2 separate regions of the Homo sapiens genome follow, and region 2 is linked to region 1. Evidence: promoter capture Hi-C in 16 types of primary human blood cells and fetal thymus (Javierre and others, 2016). All regions are on one chromosome and are shown on one strand. Each heading gives the region's core, a stretch centred on a gene start or on the middle of the fragment in contact. The rest is flanking DNA. Distances are from core to core; before and after follow the strand shown.

What was found. Contacts are between HindIII fragments. The CHiCAGO score rates a contact against its expected background, and 5 or more counts as called.
Region 2: a contact is called between a fragment that was not itself captured here and the fragment with the promoter of MRTFA in region 1, in 1 of 17 cell types (neutrophils). The highest score is 15.5, in neutrophils.

What each region holds. Positions count from the first base shown.
Region 1 is chr22:40,634,915-40,638,442 of GRCh38, reverse strand. It overlaps MRTFA (myocardin related transcription factor A), which reads left to right and starts at 1,724. Exons shown (of 15, transcript NM_020831.6): 1 at 1,724-1,965. RefSeq lists enhancers at 1-650, 1,390-1,699 and a silencer at 1,960-2,269. The HindIII fragment of the contact is 6,464 bases long and covers 1-3,528 here.
Region 2 is chr22:39,534,419-39,537,946 of GRCh38, reverse strand. No RefSeq gene overlaps it. Among named protein-coding and RNA genes, the nearest start is that of RPS19BP1, 3.4 kb to the right of the region's middle. RefSeq lists silencers at 2,844-2,933, 2,994-3,043, 2,909-3,203. The HindIII fragment of the contact is 4,950 bases long and covers 1-3,528 here.

The sequences.
Region 1 (3,528 bases), core at 475-2,974:
CCAGGGTAGTGACTGTATCTCATCTAGCTTACCCCCTCAGTGTTCTTACTCAAAAAATATTTATCGAATAAATAATTTTATCAGGTATTTTGTGCAAGAATTTTTGCCTTGGGGAAGGTGTGTGTGACTAAGAGCCCACGAGGATCCCGTCTAACTCCAAGATTCTGCGACCGGCATTGGAAGCTGATTTATAGTGAGTAATTGGGAATACCCAAGGCCACTTTGACTTTTGCCGCCATTGGATAGAGCAGCACCCTCTCCTACCCTCCCTCTGAGTTCACCCATGGGCAGTCCCAGAAGCCTTTGATGGGGAAAAGGGGGTCATAGTGAGAATTTACCTTGGAATGTAAAGTGAGCCGCCCCTTTTCAGTCTTTGCATCTTCACGCGGGTCCGCCCCAAACCTAGAAGAACGCCCCTGACCACTTCTTCTTCTATCTACTGTTACTCCTTCCTCTGACTCTGGTGACCCCATCCCGGAAGCCTTCCGGAAAGCGCTTCCCCCTTTTCCACCCCATCGAGTTGGGGTTATTTCTCCTTTTCTGGGCTCTCTCCCATTGCTGGGGAGGAAGGCGGATACGAAGGGCCTGCATGACCGCAGCTGTCATCACAGTGGGCCTGGCTTACCTTGTTGCTCTCTCCCCTTTCGCCTTTCTCCTTTCTCCCTGTTGCAGTCATGGACTTCACTCATAATACATATACATATACATATACATATACATATACATATACATATACACATACACATACACATACACATACACATACACATACACATACATATACATGTTTTTAAATCGGGCAGCCACCCGCTCCCCGCCCTCAGCCCGGAATAGGTTCAGAGAGGTGCCCGGGTTCACTTGCGGAGCGTGTGGCCTCTGCGCCTAACGCGCGCCCCTTCACTACACGAATGGGTGCGGGCAAGGGTATAGGATTTTAGAATTCCAAGAGTTGTCGGGGGTCATCCCGTGGAATCCTCTTTTTTGCAGATGCTCTTCCTGGAGCCTTCCGATGCAAGCTCTTGGGCTCACGCAGCCCTTTTCCTCTTCTAAGCCCAGAGCGCTTTCGCTGCTGCTGATCTCCACGGCCTCGGCAGATAGGGAGGGGCAGGCAGGTGTCAGCGTCCTCCCTTTCACCGTTGGGGAAACTGACTCAGAGAAACAAGGCGACGGGCCTCGGCGGGGCGGGACCGTAACGGGAATTCAAGGCTCCAGGCCAGAGCGGAATTTATTGTGTCTCGTTTTGGGAAGCGTGAATGTGAAATGATCGACTTCGGAGCCCCAGGCGGAGACCCTTCAGTCCCCGACAAGAATCGGGATGGGGTCTGGGATTAATGCAGTAATTACTCGCGCCTGGGCATTGACCCCTTGGCAACTTCGCAAGATCCGGCAGGGTCCACCGCCCTTCCCTTCACAGGGTGACCACAGGGCTGCGGCCTCTTTAAGGCCCAGAGCTCCGCCCCCGGCTCGTCGCCAACCCCCTCGCCGCAGCTCAGCCAGTTCCAGACTTTCCTCAGAGATGAGGTCATCTCCCCGTTGCCCATTGGCTGCGCCGTGCCGTCAGTCACAGGAAGTCAGGCCGCCGTTTTCGCCTTCTTCATGCCGCTTCCTTCTCCGCCCGCCCTTTAGTCCGCCGATCACGACCCCGATCAGGCCTCTGATTGGCTAGCGCCGCCGTCACTTCTCCAGCGGACAGTCTTCAGGACGGGAGGCGGGCGTGGTGGGCGGGCCCGCAGCTTCCGTGGCTGAGAGGAGCCGGCGGCGGCAGTGTCTGTGGTGGCCGCGGCGGCGAGAGCGACGGTCCCATCTTTCCCACCCTCTTGGTTGCCGCTGGCCACACGCCCTCCGCTGGCGGCGACTTCTCAGCTCCGTGCGCCCGGGCTGGACAGTGAGCCTCGAGAGGAGACGCGGGCGGCTAGAGCCGGAGTGGGGCGAGCCGCGGAACCCGGCCGGGAGCCGCGCGAGGCGGTGAGTGAGAGTCCGGGTTGGGGACCCCTCCCCCACCGCGGCCTCGCCCCGCCTGGAGCATCCTTTTTCCCCCCCGACCCTGCTGCGCGCGTCCTCGGGGGGTCGGGCGAGGCGGCCCTCGCGTCCCCTGCCCTCTTCTTGCCGGCCTTCTGCCCCTGCCCTCGGGGCCGGAGTCGCAGAGCGGCGGTCACTGTGCCGGGGCTGGGACCCGGGCCGGGCCGGGCGGGCGGGCGCGGTCGTGCACCTGTGCACTGCCTGGCAGGGCTGTGCTGCGCGGGGCGGGGAGGCACGGAGGTCCTCGCCCTCGCTTCTCCCGGGATGTGTTTTGATTGCAGGGACGGGGTGTCGGCCGCTTTCTCTGGGGTCTTGTGCAGACCTTCAGGATCCAAGTGCAGTCCTTGGGATTCCCAGGCAAGGAGGCTCAGCTGGACTTGTTGGTGCCAGTATAGCAAACCTGAATGCTGCCAGGTGTACAGGGCTCTGCAAATCTGAAACTTGATGGCCAAGAACTTTACCTCCTAAGAAAGCGTCTGTCAGGACGCTGATGCAGTCCACCCTCCCCGCTTCGGGTACCTTTGATACTCCATAGTGCCTAGGGCTGGACCTTTTGAGTCGACTCCCAAACCTGCCACTTGCTAGCTGTGTAATCTTGTGCCTTGGTTTCCTCGTCTGAAAAATGAGGATAATAGCACCAATCGCATACGGTTGTTTGTTGTAAGTGTCGAATGAAATAATTCACGTGAAGCGTTTGACACAGTGCTTGGCCCATAGTAAGGGCCCAAGAAATGTTTGCTTTTGGGATGTTGAGAATGCCTGGTTTGCCTGTGTGCCTTTAAGCACTAGCCCAGCTTGGCATTGTCAAGATTTCTCTCTGTTGTCTCCCTGTTATGCAGCATAACGAAAGGGCAGTTGAATGGTTAACTTGCTTGCCAGCCTCTGTTTGGCATGAAGTGTGTGTATATACAGGAATGTGGAATACATCACTTAAATATAATAATGGAATTACCCCATGCTTCGTATGTTTTTACATAGTTTTAAACTCATAAGACGTCTGGAATGTCCCCGAGTTGCAAGTTTTTGAGATCTTTTCAGGGTCCTTTCTACATCAAGCCGAAGCCTGTAACGTTAAGACTTATTGTCAGTAAGAAGTTAGACCTACATGTTTTACTTCAGAAGACCCCCAAAACTCCAAATGTCACTTACGCAGTTTTACTGTTGAAAAGCAGTCATCTCCCGGGGGTGAGGTGGTACAGCCAGCTGGCCCACAGCCCTATGACTGCAGGGTGGGGAACCTTTGGCTGGAAGTTATTAAACTAAGTTTTGCTTAATGTCGTTTGCATTTTTCATAGCGAACCAAAGGGCTTTATGTTACTGTTTCTTATTGAAATGATTTAGAAAGAAGCAATCCATTACTGCGTTCTTTAAAAACACCTGCAAAGAAAAAAATATCTGTAGTTTAGCTCTAGTGTTTGTTTCAGTTTTTGGCCAATAACTATTAAGAAGAGCCCGTTTTTAAGAAGGCTTCCAAAAGTCACATCCACTTGAATAAGTTATTTAGAGTCA
Region 2 (3,528 bases), core at 526-3,025, 1.1 Mb after region 1:
GCCCTATAGGGATATTTTCTCTGCGACAAAGTGCTATGTCTGTCCCTACTGCCCAGATGGGGATAGCAAAGCCCAGAATAGAGGAGGGACTTATTCTAGATCTTACAGCGAGGTCAAGTTCCCAGAGCCAGGTGACATCCGCTCTGCCTAAGGACCTCCCATCTGACCCCAACCTACTGGTAAGGTCTTTGGGTACAAGTTGGCTTGAGGAAGGGGTGCTTGCTTGCTAAGGGGCCCCCAAGTTCTCCCCTCAGTCTTCCAAGCTCACCCTTTCCTCTTCCTGTAACCTCTTAACATCTCAGTGGCCCTGGGGACCTGGCAGGACTGGGGACTCCGCCCCATCTTTCTCCAGGGACTGGGAGGAATGTACCCAAGATCACACAGCAGGCCAGGCACTGGTGGCTCATGCCTGCAATCCCAACACTTTGGGAGGCCAAGGCAGGCAGATCACCTAAGGTCAGGAGTTCGAGACCAGCCTGGCCAACATGGTGAAACCCTGTCTCGACTGAAAATACAAAAATTAGCCAGGCACACCGGCGGGCCTCTGTAATCCTAGCTACTCGGGAGGCTGAGACAGAAGAATCGCTTGAACCCAGGAGAAGGAGGTTGTAGTGAGCCAAGATCGCGCCACTGCCCTGCAGCCTGGGGGACAGAGCAAGACTTGCTCTCCAAAAAAAAAAAAATAAAAACAAAAAAAAACAAAAAAAAAAAACTTCACACAGTAGCTTAATGGCAGAGCCGCATCTTTGGCTGGTCAGGGTGGAGACATTAAAAAGACCCCACCTTTGACCCCCACCCGGGGGTTACTGGCTGACCCCATATCTCCATGGATAATTTCCAGTAGCTTCTTCTGTGTCTTCATTATACCCTTAAAATCAGGCATGCCACTATTTCACCATTCACATGATTGGAAAGAAGCCACTTGGCCTCTGCCTGGATGCCCTGAGGGGGCTGCTGTCCCTGGGACTGGTGGGTGCCACCCTGAACCCTGCAGACCCTGGACGACAGAGACTCACACTTGCTGAGAGTGTAACACGAGCATGTGGGCACCGCCAGGCCCAACGGAGCCCTTCATTCACCCCAATGCCCGCCTCCTGCACGTGGAGCAGCTCCTGGTTCACGCTCAGCAAATGCTGGCTGGTTTTTCTCCTATTGGCTGCTCCGTCAGTGGTATCAGCAGGTATTTATTGACTGCACAGATGAATAAATGCCAGGCCTGGTGCTGAGCACATTTCATGCCACCTCACTGCACCTCCAACAGACCCCAAGCGCCCCCTCGAAGCTCAGAAAGGTGAGGTAGGTGCCCAGGTCACACATCTGCTAAGCGGCAAAGGCGGCGTCTGAACGGGAATCAGCGACTCCAGGCTGTCAGGTGTTACTCCCTGTGGCCTCCAACCTAACCGTGTGTGAGCACAAGAGTGTGGAAATCCAGAGGCGACATACAAGTGCAGGTCACACCCACAGATGGGGGCCCAGGTCCCACCGGCACACTGCTGTCCACAGAGCAATCACTGATTCACAAACTAGAGTGCTTATTCTGCGTCCAACGGAATTCCAAATGCTCAACCCTCGATCCTCACAGCAGCCTTATGAGGTAGGGATTATTATCATAGTCAACTCATAAACGAAGAAACCGAGGCACAGAGAGGTTGTGGGACTTGCCCAAAGTCACACAGCTAGTAAGTGGAAAAGCCAGGATGTACAGCCTGGCTCTGGAGCAAGTGCTCCCTTCATACCACAGGAGCCAGGAGCTCCGGGCGCCTCCCGCCTCGGCCCTGTATGGAGGACTGGACAATACTCTCTAAAGCCCCCAAAACCTCGGAAGAGGAAATGGGCTAGGGGAGGGAGGGCGGCTTGCCTGTGGACACACAGCTGTGTGAGCCGAGGCCTTGTGGAAACCGGGGCATCTGTGCCAGCCCCAGACCACCAGGACACCCTCTCCAGAACTGCTCACCTCCCAGAGACCCTACGGTCCCCTCTCCAGGGGGCCACTGGTCCCTGGGGGCCACACACATACTCTTGCTTAGGACCCGGAGACCTGGGCTTGAGTCCTGACTCTGTTCTTGAAGGGCTGCACAGCCCTGCAGAAAGCCACCTGCCTCTCAGCCTCCCAGGCCCAGGGTAGTTAAGCTGTTTCACGGAGCCTGGGAGGAGACATAGGGCATGGGGGCCGAAGGGCCCTTTATGGCGATGGTTCCTCTGTGTGGCCAAAAGCCTCAGTGCGGGGATCAGGGGCAGGCAGGGACCCAGTGTGGAAACAGGCTCAGAGCAGTGAAGCCGCTCATCCAGGGTCATGCCAGGTGGGGAACTAGCCTGGGAGACCTCATGACCCGCCCTCCCACAGGGAGACAGGAAGCAGCTGCCCAACCCCCCTCCCCCTCCCCCAGCTTGACCCATCAGGGCCAACGTCAAGACTGGCAGGTCGCAGGTGCCCAAATGCGGGCTGTGGGGTGATCTGCTTGGGCCCAACAGTGGCTGCCCCTGCCCATCCCGTCTTGCCCAGAGGGAGCAGGTAGCATGGCAGCGCTGTAGCACCCTCTACACGCAGTCCCTGGGCGCAGACCCACCCAGGCCCGGCCCACACGGCACGGTATTGATCCACCGGTTCTCACACCTCTCCTAGAAGGGGGATGCTGCCCTGCCAAGCCCCATCCAACCAATGAGGAAACTGAGGCACTCTTTGTTAAGGGATTGCTGGGGTCACACAGCTCCCAGCTGTCATTTGCACACTTTTCAGGAAGGGACCTCGCCCCCCGCCCTGGGCAGCCCAGCCTGGTGGCTCTGCCTCAGCTTCCCCAGCCACTCCTCCAGGCCAGGGTGAGAGTGGGAGGGGGTGCGGGACAGCAGGAAGCCGGGGCCACACGGTGCTGGCTGCAAGGAGCCAGCCGAGGCAGAAGGACGTCCGGACCCCCACCCCCACCTAGCCCGGGTGGGCGCAGCTGAGGCCTTGGAGTCTCGCCGCGTGAGAAAGCTGTCCTGCGGCGCCACCTATTGGCAGAAATGCGCCCGGCCCCGCGGATGTGCTGATAACTCCGCGGGAGGCTGGGGCAGCGCCTGGCCTGCCGTCCCGCCCGTGCCCGGCTGGGCTGCGGACGCTGCAGGGGTCCACCTGGCACGTTGGCAGAAAACTCCTCCACCCGGGGGACCGTGGGCTGATTCAGCCTAGATCGGGAGGAGGACAGAGCTTGGTCCTTTGCCCTCCTGAGAGGCTGACTCGCTGCACATCCCACGACCTCCTGGGCCTCAACCCAGCGGCTCACTGGCGTCCCAAACTCAGCTCTCATCCACTCATTTCGTGCGTTTCTGAACTCTTACCGTATGCCAAGCACTGTTCCAGGCGCTAGGGATATAACAATGAACAAAACAAAGATCCCTGCCTTGCGGAGCTTACAGTGGGGTATGGGCGGGGAAACAGACAATACGCAATACACATAATAAGTAAGACAACAATCCGGCTATGTTAGAAGCAGGAAGGAGGCATATGTCTGAACAGTCACTGGGTTCCAGGCCCCACACTCCCCTTAGGAC